2 separate regions of the Homo sapiens genome follow, and region 1 is linked to region 2. Evidence: promoter capture Hi-C in 16 types of primary human blood cells and fetal thymus (Javierre and others, 2016). All regions are on one chromosome and are shown on one strand. The core of a region is centred on a gene start or on the middle of the fragment in contact, and the rest is flanking DNA. Distances in the headings are between cores, read along the strand shown.

Region 1 (4,903 bases), core at 435-2,934, 73 kb before region 2:
AATTCTATATCCCAATCAGAATAAAATTCCTAAGAATTGTATTTGATTCTTCTGGATGCTATTATGAATGGAATTTTTTTTTAGGATTGTTCCTTGGTGATGTACAGAAACACAACTGGTTTTTGTGTGTTGATCTTGTACCCTAGAAATTTGCTAAATCAATTTACTAGATCTAATAGATTTTTTGTGTATTCCTTGGGATTTTCTATATGTAGAGTCCTGTGTTCTGCAACTGTAAATATTTATTTCTTCCTTTCCAATTTGGATGACTTGTGATTCCAAATGATGACAGTGTTTTACTTTTTCTTTCCAAGATGCTCTGGCTAGGACTCCCAGTACCATGTTGAGTAGCAGTGATGAAAGCAGGCATCCTTATATTGTTTCTGATCTTAGGGGGAAAGCTTTCAGTCTATCACCATTAAGTTTGAAAAGCTTCCTTATCTTTTGGTCTTTGGTTGGGGTTGGACAATAGGCAGCATGAGCTAAATTTAGGAGGACAGGAGGGGAATGAAGTCACACCGTTGGTGTGCTGGCTCCCTCTCTGCTGCGTCTCCATGAGTTGATTGCGTTCCTCTACAAAAGACCACAGCTCCTGTCAGGTGACCTTCTTCATACAGCCACTCCCTTCCTTCCTGGCCCTTTTAGGTGTAACTAAAAGGTGAATGCTCCCTGCAATGGCTAGCCCTAGGGTGCCATACCTTGTTGTCTTCCCTGAGTTCTGCCCACCCCTCTGTAAACTGTCCCTTCATGAAACTACTCAATTCTTCATTCAGAATGTACACCTGTTTCCTGCAGAGACTCTAATTCAAAGACTTAACAGTGAGTAAATGGGCACATCTCTCTGGACTGAAGTCAGCCTGCAGTGGTCCAGCAACACTCCAAAGTGAGTGAGGTTTTAACAACCACCTTACAGTCTTTTCTGGCTTTTGAACATATATAAGTCTGTGACTGGGTATGCGGTAGGAGGAGTTTGGTGAGAACAAGGAAGAGAACTTGCTGCTTTTCATGTCAGCTACGTGTACCTTAGAGATGCAACTTGCATAAACTGTAAAATTCTGTATCCCAATCAGAATTGCTGAATCAAAGATTTGGAACTGCAACTTCTTCAAATGGGAAGACAAATATTTCCTCCACCTTTGCTTCTGATTCTGCTCATCATCCATTGTTAGTATCCCAGATTAGAATCTGATTGGGACATGCTGGCTGCTTGAACTTTGGGGCTTATTGCTACCAAATATTCGAGCCCAGCCCAACTTTTGTTTCATAACTGCCTCTACCCCAAGGCCTGATGGAACCCACCTCTTTTGGCCCAAGGAAACTCACATGCTGGCAACATTTGTGTACTGTATTCATTTCCTAGGGCTGCCCACAACAAATTACCAAAAAGTGGGGTGACTTAAAACAGCAAGAATTTCTTTTCTCACAGTTTTGGAGGCTAGAAGTCCGAGATCAAGATGTTGGCAGGTCCATGCTCTCTGATGGCTTTAAGGAAGAACCCTCCCTGCCTCTTCCTGGCTTCTGTAGGTTCTTGGCAATCCTTGGTTTGTAGATGCATCACTCCAACCTCTGCCTCTGTCATCACATGGCTACATCTTCTTCCTGTGTGTCTTATTCTTCCTCCCATGAGGCCATCAGTCATATTGAATTGAGAACCCATCAGGCTGGGCATGGTGGCTTATGCCTGTAATCTCAGCACTTTGGGAGGCAGAGACACATGGATCACCTGAGGTCAGGAGTTCGAGACCAGCCCGGCCAACATGGCAAAACCCCGTCTCTATTAAAAATACAAAAATTAGCTGAGTCTGGTGGCATGTGACTGTAGTCCTGGCTACTTGGGAGGCTGAGGCAGAAGAATCACTTGAACCCGGGAGACAGAGGTTGCAGTCAGCCGAGATCGAGCCACTGCATTCAGGCCTGGGCAACAGAGTGAGACTCTGTCTCAAACAAACAGAAAAAAGGATCCATCATATCTTAACTGATATCTGCAATGACCCTGTTTCCAAATAAGGTCATATTCTGAGATACTAGCATAAGGATTTCAACATTCCCTTGGAGGGACACAATTCAACTCATAGCAATATATATTTATCATTTGCAAGGACTTGCTTCTCCCTGTCTGACTCATTCCACTACTAGAAGAGAAAATCCTACTTATAAAATAGAAGGTTAGAGGCTGGGCGCAGTGGCTCACACCTGTAATCCCAGCAATTTGGGAGGCTAAGGCTGGTGGATCACGAGATCAGGAGTTCAAGGCCAGCCTGGCCAAGATGGTGAAACCCCGTCTCTACTAAAACTACAAAAATTAGCAGGGCATAGTGGCAGGCGCCTGTAATCCCAGCTACTCAGTAGGCAGAGACAGGAGAATGGCTTGAACCTGGGCGGCAGAGGTTGTAGTGAGCTGAGATGACGCCACTGCACTCCGGTCTGGGTGACAGAGTGAGACTCCATCTCAAAAAATAAATAAATAAAATAAAAATAAAATAAAATATAAGGTTAGAACATTTTATTGAAGGAAAGCAATAGGTGAGCAGAAAATCAAGGGCCCTCACTCAACTAAAAGTCAAAGCATGGGACTATAGTGCCAGGTATGACATAATTTTCCTGTGTGAAGTTTCAAACCACTTAATCTCTGTGCACTTTGGTTTCCTCATCTGTAAAATGAGGAAAAAGACTTAGTAACTGCCAAGGCAGGTCCTGTTAAGCTCCCAAATTCTAAGATTCTTTGACATACACATCTATTGCTAGTAGATTTTTTGCAAGGGATATTGTGAGCTTGCTTAGTGTTACCTCAGACTGCCTATGCTCAAGGTCTCTCTCAGTCCATTTTCAATTACTCTCCTGTTGTCTCTGTGATAGTTTGGTTTATTTGAAAACATCTGGAGGATTCACTAGCCTTAATTCCAAGTATGAAATGTAAAGGCTCCATTTAAAGCTTCATAATTGGACCCAGATGTTTCTTCTGATGCTATTAAATCTTCTCATCTAATCTTGACTCCAGAAATATTATGGGGTTTCCTCTCAAGGAGACTCAGAAGCATGCACGGGGGTCAGAGGGGAAGGAGAATAATGGGAAGATTTCGAGTCATGACGTATGATCTCCCTTATTATTCCACCTGTGAAATTGGCTCCCATACTTCCTCCCTGACTTATCTGTAGCACTGACTCCTCCAGGGGAGGTGCTGTCTTATTCATCTCTGAGTGCACACAAGCATATGCGTTTGGCCCCAAAATAGGACCTGGCTCAGCCTGTGTGGCAGGCAAAAAGGGAGGCAGGAAGGCAGAGAGGTAATTTACAGAGAAGTTTCATCACTGCTCTATTTTCACCCCACCCTCCTCCTCTGATCCCCTAAACTCAGATCCTCAGATCCATGAACTGATCCTCCTTTTCAAAAAATTGTGGTAGGCCAGGCATAGTGGCTCACGCCTGTAATCCCAGCACTTTGGGAGGCTGAGGTGGGCCGATCACCTGAAGTCAGGAGTTCAAGACCGGCCTGGCCAACATGGTGTAACCCCATCTCTACTAAAAATACAAAAAGTTAGCCGGGTGTGATGGTGGGTGCCTGTAATCCCAACTACTCAGGAGGCTGAGGCAGGAGAATTGCTTGAACCCAGAAGGCAGAGGTTCCAGTGAGCTGAAATGGAGCACCATTTTACTCCAGCATGGGCAACAAGAGTGAAACTCCATCTCAAAGGGGAGGAGGTTGTTGTTTATATGTAATTAAGAGAATGAGAAAAGTTTGCATGAGTGACTCTTTGAATCTTGACATAGGAGTGAGTGTTCTCTGCAGAAACCAGGATCAGGCTGAAGCACACCAGCCAGGAGGCTCTGCAAGAGCCATGGCAGAGGCATGACTCAGCCTTGTGAGTTTGTGAAACTGCAAGTGAGCTGGCCTGACTGGAGCACAGCATGTTGGGGAATGGAGGGAGAGAGGAAAACACTGTGAAAGAATAGACTTACTGGGAAGCTATAGAGGAAGGTTTGGGTCTGGTCACAAAGTCCAGGTATGGTAGATAAGGAACAGGATTTTATCCTCAGGACAATCAAAACCCATGGAAGGTTTTAAGAAGAGTAATGTGGTCAATTACATGTTTTATACACCCTTTCTAGTGGCTAGTGTGGGGAAGGTGAGACTAGATGTTAGAGGCCAGTTAGGAGACTATTGCCTGAGACCAGGTGAGGGGTAACACAGTTTTGGTGGGATAGGGGCAGCATTGTGCCTCAGCTGGCTCAGATTGGCTCATGAGAGCTGATTGTCAAATTTTAAGGAATTCTCCAAGCTGCTGGTTAAACCCATTCATTCTTAAAAATTAAATTATATGAACTTACAATTAGCTGAGTGTGGTGGTACGTGCCTGTAGTCCCAGCTACTTGGGAGGCTGAGGCAGAAGAATCACACTTACAATTAAAGAAATATTTTCATATGGTAACAATATTTAAAATTCATCATTTCCTAATTGTGTTTTTTTGGGTTTTTGTTTGTTTGTTTTCTTATTTGTTTTTTAGCTCTGTTGCCCAGGCTGGAGTGCAGTGGCACAATCATAGCTCACTTTAAGTTCAAACTCCCAGGCTGAAGTGATCTTCCCACCTCAGCCTCCTGAGAGAGTAGAACTACAGGTGTGCACCACCAGGCCTGCTATTTTAAATTTTTTGTAGAGATGGGTTTCCCTATGTTGCCCAGGCAGTCTCGCACTCCTGGGCTCAAGCAATCCTCCTACCTCAGCCTCCCAAAGTGCTGGGATTACAGGCATCAACCAGCACACCCAGCTCTTAATTGTTGTACTATTGTCTTAGTTCTTAAGGCAATTTACCTCTAGTTGATCTGTATGGCGGAAACACGATATAATGGTGTGCTGCTGCACACCTCTTCCCAACATGATGTTCAATGCCATCATGGTGGTAATT
Region 2 (5,076 bases), core at 1,462-3,961:
TTGCAAACCAGGGCGGGCTCTCCAAACCGAAAGCTGCGCGGAGTTGGGTTTCTGGGATTCTAGGGCTGCGGGCAAGGGAGATGGGGGATTTTCCCGGGATCCCGACTCCGATCTGAGCCTAGACTCCCCGCGTTCTGGCCCCTTGTCCCGTATCTCTAGGGCCGCAGTGTCAATTCCGTGTCCTCCGAAGTGGTTCGTCACCTGCTCCGCCGAGGGGAGCCGCCCCTTGGGCCAACGCTGCGGGAGTCCGGACGGTCCGAAGCATGCTGGCCAGGCGCAAGGGGAGACCGACTCACAGGGGAGAGGGTGGGCAAGGGGACGGCGGCTGGGCCTCGGTACCCCGCGAGGGGGGCTCTGCGATTCTGACCCAGCAGCGGCGCCTCCGGGCCCGCGAGGTTTTGACGACCAGCGGGCGCCCCCTCGGGAACCACATTTGTTTCCCGCTGGTCTCGAGCGTCCAGAGCGCGAAGCGGCGGAGCACGGCGAACCTACGATTCGTGATGCTTGGCCTAATCCTCTGCCCTTCATGGGTGCGGGCAGGAACGGAGTAGCGGCTGATGTCCCCTCCCTAATCCCAAAGCCCCACAAAAGCCAAAATACACACGCAAACTCTCACCAGCGCATCTCACAAACACAAAAACTAAAGACAACACATGAAAATATAACCCGATCCCCCACCAAAACGTACAGTTCAAAAAAATAAAATTCAAATCGAAGGAAACAAAACACACACAACACGAAATTCCCTAAGGCAACACACACACAGACGACACCCACTCACACCAAATCAAAACACATCTAAACACCGCGGAGAAGGAAAAGCCTTACAAACGACACACAAAAAGACAGCCTACAAGGACAAAGTACAAAATTACACAAAATCAAAACTCACCCCAAAGACCAGGACTTACAGAGCAAAACCCGCTAAAATCAATCCCACGAAAAAACAACACGCAAAACACCCGAAACAAAAGAATATCCCATGGAAAAATGAAAACTCACAGAAAACAAACAAAAACAAAACAAGCCCTCTAAATGGAAACAACAACAACAACAAAACACCAACACCCCCCGCCCCCAGCCCGGGGTGAAATGTCAATTCCGGGAGGGCTTTTGATCTCCAGGCGCGGACAGGCCGCTCCTCCCAGGCGCTGCCTCCCGGCGCGGGCGAGGCGGGAGGGCGGGAAGCCTGGGCTGGGGCTGGGCTGCGGAGGGAAAGAGTCGAGCACTCGGAGATGGCCAAAAATCAAATCTCGGGGTAGGGACACGGGCCCGCAGGCTGCAGGGAGGAGGCGGCGCTGGGGAACTGCGCAGACCACTTGGTGGGGGGGCCGCCCGGGAATCCACAGCCACATTTCCGATTGTGGCGAAATCTGCTCAGTGGATATGTGATGTCCAGTTGCCGCCGGGGGCCCCCCTTTCCTCGAGCTCTAGGCTCTTCCCCCTAGGTTGCGACCCAGCCTCGTGACCACCCCCTCCAAAAAACAAACAACACTCTTGCTGAGGACGATTCACTCTCCAAAACTGCCATTGTCCGGCGGGCCAGGAGTCCTCCTACGGAGCGCTCCCCCGCCCTGGAGAACCTTTCCCCTGCGACCACCCCGCTGCAGGGCCCCACAGGCTTTCAGTGGCTAGGCCCAGCAGCTGAACTAACTCAAGGCTGGGGAGGGGAACAGGGAGGGGAGGCTTGAGTCTGGCCCGAAGAGAGAGGGCTGGACATGCCACACCTCTGCTCGGTCTCTGTGGATCTGATTTCCTCTCTGGAATCAAGTCCTGGGGCTCTGGGACTCCACAACGTCTCAGGGCTCGAGGGCAATGCGATTCCACTTATGGGCCGGGGTAAGGTGTCTGGAACTCCCGCCAATCTCCAGAAACTACTGAGATGTTCTGCTCTGCCCGGGTGCTCCAAAGCGGAAGCCCGGATTTCATCTCCAGTATTTCACAGCTTAACCTCCATGCTCTGGGCCAGAATGGAACTTGATGTGGGGAGGGGTTCTGGGACTAGAAGACTGGATGGGACCTGGGGGCTTTAGGGATCTGGCGCTGCCCTAGGGTCAGGGGCCCAGCAATAGTCAGGACCCCAACAAATTGGGGTGGGGGTTGGATGGCTGGGAACCCTGGGGTCGGGCGCCGCCCTAGGGGTGAATCGGAGTAAACCGGAACGTCGCCTCGGTGCCTGGCAACACTGCCAGCCTTTGCAACCCCTTTCAAAAGCACCTGCTTGGCCGAGCAGTTAATTTCTTCAAAAACAAAAACCCGGCCTGCGCTCGTCTAAGCAGCGGGGTTTGCACATGGAGATGTCACAGGCCCCGCGCACAGCGCAGAGGGCCGCGACCCCCAAGCGCATGTCTTAATAGAAGGTGCGGCTGGAAGACCCGGGCTCCCGGGCTCCGCTTCGGTCTGCCCCTTCCCGTAGGTGCGCTGGCTAGCGCCCGGCGCAGGCTGAAGCCTTCCTTCCCTCCCCCCAACCCCTATAAAAGTCTGGGGCGGCGCGGCAGCAGCACTGCTGCTCTCCCGGCTTCCCGCTCTACTCCGGCCGGGCCGGGTCCGCCACGTCTGGCGCGCTGAGCAGGCCCGGCCGCGCAGCGCCTACCCTTTCCTCGCTCCGGGCCGGCAGTGTGGGGCGGCGCGCTGGGGGCGCGGCGTGTCTGGGGACATCTTGTGATGTTGGCGAGAACAGGACATGATCTCACATGGCGAGAAGCTCTTTAGTTCCTTAATCATTTCACGGTGCCTTCGGACGCTTTTTTTCCACCTAAAACGTTTAGTTTCAGCTCAGTGATCAGCTACCCCAGCTCGGCGGGGGAGCGGAAGGCTTGAATTATTCCGACCTGTGAGCGGCCCCTGGCACCAAAAAAAAAAAAAAAAAAAAAAAAAAAAGAAAAAAAAAGGCACAAAAAAGTGGAAACTTTTCCCTGTCCATTCCATCAAGTCCTGAAAAATCAAAATGGATTTAGAGAAAAATTATCCGACTCCTCGGACCAGCAGGACAGGTAGGACCGCGATACGGGCTCCAGATGTGCAAACTCCGGGACACGGCCAGGCCTTGGTCCCCACGCAGGGTGACCCTGGAGGAGGAGGGGGCGCGCCGCATTTTCGTAGAGACTGTCTAACTGCGGCGTGTTTGTTATGTTTTTTCACCTATCTGTTCACACACTTCTGCATCAGTCCAAATATCTGTGAGTTTGTCTGTGTTTTTCTCTGTTTCTGAATGTTCACGCTGGCGTCCTTCCGGGGGTCTGCAAGTTAGGGCCTGTGTGTTTATATAAGGGACTCAGTGTGTTCATTACAGTATATGTATTTTTAAAAGATGTAAAAATATATGAGTTTGTGTCCAAAAGTTGTTTGCCTGTGTGTGTGTGTGTGTGTGTGTGTGTGTATCTTTATACTCGTGGGGTATTCGTGTGTGTTTATAAGTTAGTACTTGTGTATATTCTTTTGGGTATCCAAAATGTGTGTCTACTATGAGTGTTATTTATGTAATTCGGAAATATCTGAGTGTACATCCACTATTTAAAGGGTCTGCATTCACCTGTTATATCCCAAGTGATTTTTGGATGTGAGAAAGAAGTGGCTACACTGACCTTTCCATTTTTGGATGTCAACGGCTGTCCGATGCATACACGCCAATGTTCACATTGTGTCTCTAGGCAAACTCCTAGACGTGGGTCTGGGGCCTATGGAGATCCGTGGTGTTTAGCATGTGCATTGTAAGGCCCAGTGTCCATTCTATTGGGAGATAGGACCAGGAATGAAGGTGTGAATTCAGGGCATGCAGCCTCTTGGTGTGCAGTGAGCACTGTTCAGGCTACCATTTGTACAAACAGGTCTCCTGTGGCAGGCACAACCTTGCAGATGACAGCGGACACCTGTAGGGTTAGTTGTGACATTTCTAGGGACCCCCAGCCTACATTCACTTTCACCTAGACAAGCCTCTGACACTGGCGTGTGTATTTGTGTGTACACACAGACACACACACACTGTGTCCTCAGGTTTTATCCTGTGGGTGCCGCACCAGTGGAGGAGAGCACAGTGGGTGGATGCATGTGCATAGTCTGGGCATTCAGCTCTAGGGCCTGTATGCGCACAGGCCTCCCTGGCTTAGGTCCCCATGTGCCTCCCACAGGCCTGAGAAGTAGGTAGCAGGATGTGTTTATGTCTGAGAGGAGATAGCAGGGACAGTAGGCCTCCATCTGCCCTGAGGCATGAATCAGGTATGGGGGGCCTCTTTCACTCACTAGGCCACTGTGTAACTCCCACACAAACACTCTCTTGGCCCTGGCAAGAAGCCCCCTTCCCCCATCTCTGTGCCCTCTGAGAACCCCCATCTCTCCTCCAGCCTCAAATACAAGCCTAAGAGCAAAAAGGATAAACTTAGACCCCAAGCCCAGGACAACTTCTGGGGCATAACTGTGTTTCCAAAATTGTGGCTGGAGAGAAGTGAGGGCAGAGATCTGAGGCAGAAGAGTGCTCCCAGGATGAGGGCTCAGGAAAAGTTACCTGGAAACTCCTCTTCTCCATCCTCAATTCTCAGAAGGCCCTTCTCCCTGGCAGTGGGCTTCTCAGCAGATGGACTTTCAGAGAGACCTGAGCCTGGAAGTGGGTGTTGTGTATGTGTGGGGAATGAGGCGGGGATGTGTGAGTGTCATGGAGAGGGTCTGCGCAGTCCTCGGGCTGGCTCTCCCGACAAGCTGTGTAGAAGAATGTAATTCATGGCGGTCGATGGGCTCTTTGATTAGTTCAATTGCCTGAATAATCATTTAATCAATAAAGCATTTTATTCCTCTGCATAGCTGGACTGGGTGGGGCTTGGGGTGGGGTGAGATACGGGAGCCCTAGGCTGGCCAAGCCTTAAAATCTAGAGAGCCACGCCCCCTCCTCACTGATGGGTTGGGGAAGAGCTGCCTGCCTGGAAAAGGGCGACAGTTCAAGTGAGACTGCACTTCCATCTGTCCACTCCAGCCTGGGTCAGGGCTGGAGAAGAGAGGGAAGCTGAGAAGCTGTCCAAGCTGGTGCTCAAAGGGTTGTCCAGGTCTGGTTCCTATGAGAGCTTCTTCCTTCTCCCAACTTCTGGG

Evidence for each region. Contacts are between HindIII fragments. The CHiCAGO score rates a contact against its expected background, and 5 or more counts as called.
Region 1: a fragment that was not itself captured here is called in contact with the fragment with the promoter of PAX5 in region 2 in 2 of 17 cell types (total B cells and naive B cells); the score reaches 8.1 in total B cells.

The regions. Positions count from the first base shown.
Region 1 is chr9:37,103,605-37,108,507 of GRCh38, reverse strand. No RefSeq gene overlaps it. Among named protein-coding and RNA genes, the nearest start is that of ZCCHC7, 15 kb to the left of the region's middle. The HindIII fragment of the contact is 2,500 bases long and covers 435-2,934 here.
Region 2 is chr9:37,031,903-37,036,978 of GRCh38, reverse strand. It overlaps PAX5 (paired box 5), which reads left to right and starts at 2,711. Exons shown (of 10, transcript NM_016734.3): 1 at 2,711-2,993. The coding sequence starts at 2,948. RefSeq lists enhancers at 556-605, 1,999-2,048, silencers at 1,139-1,298, 2,379-2,558, 2,825-2,945 and a promoter at 2,127-2,565. The HindIII fragment of the contact is 10,408 bases long and covers 1-5,076 here.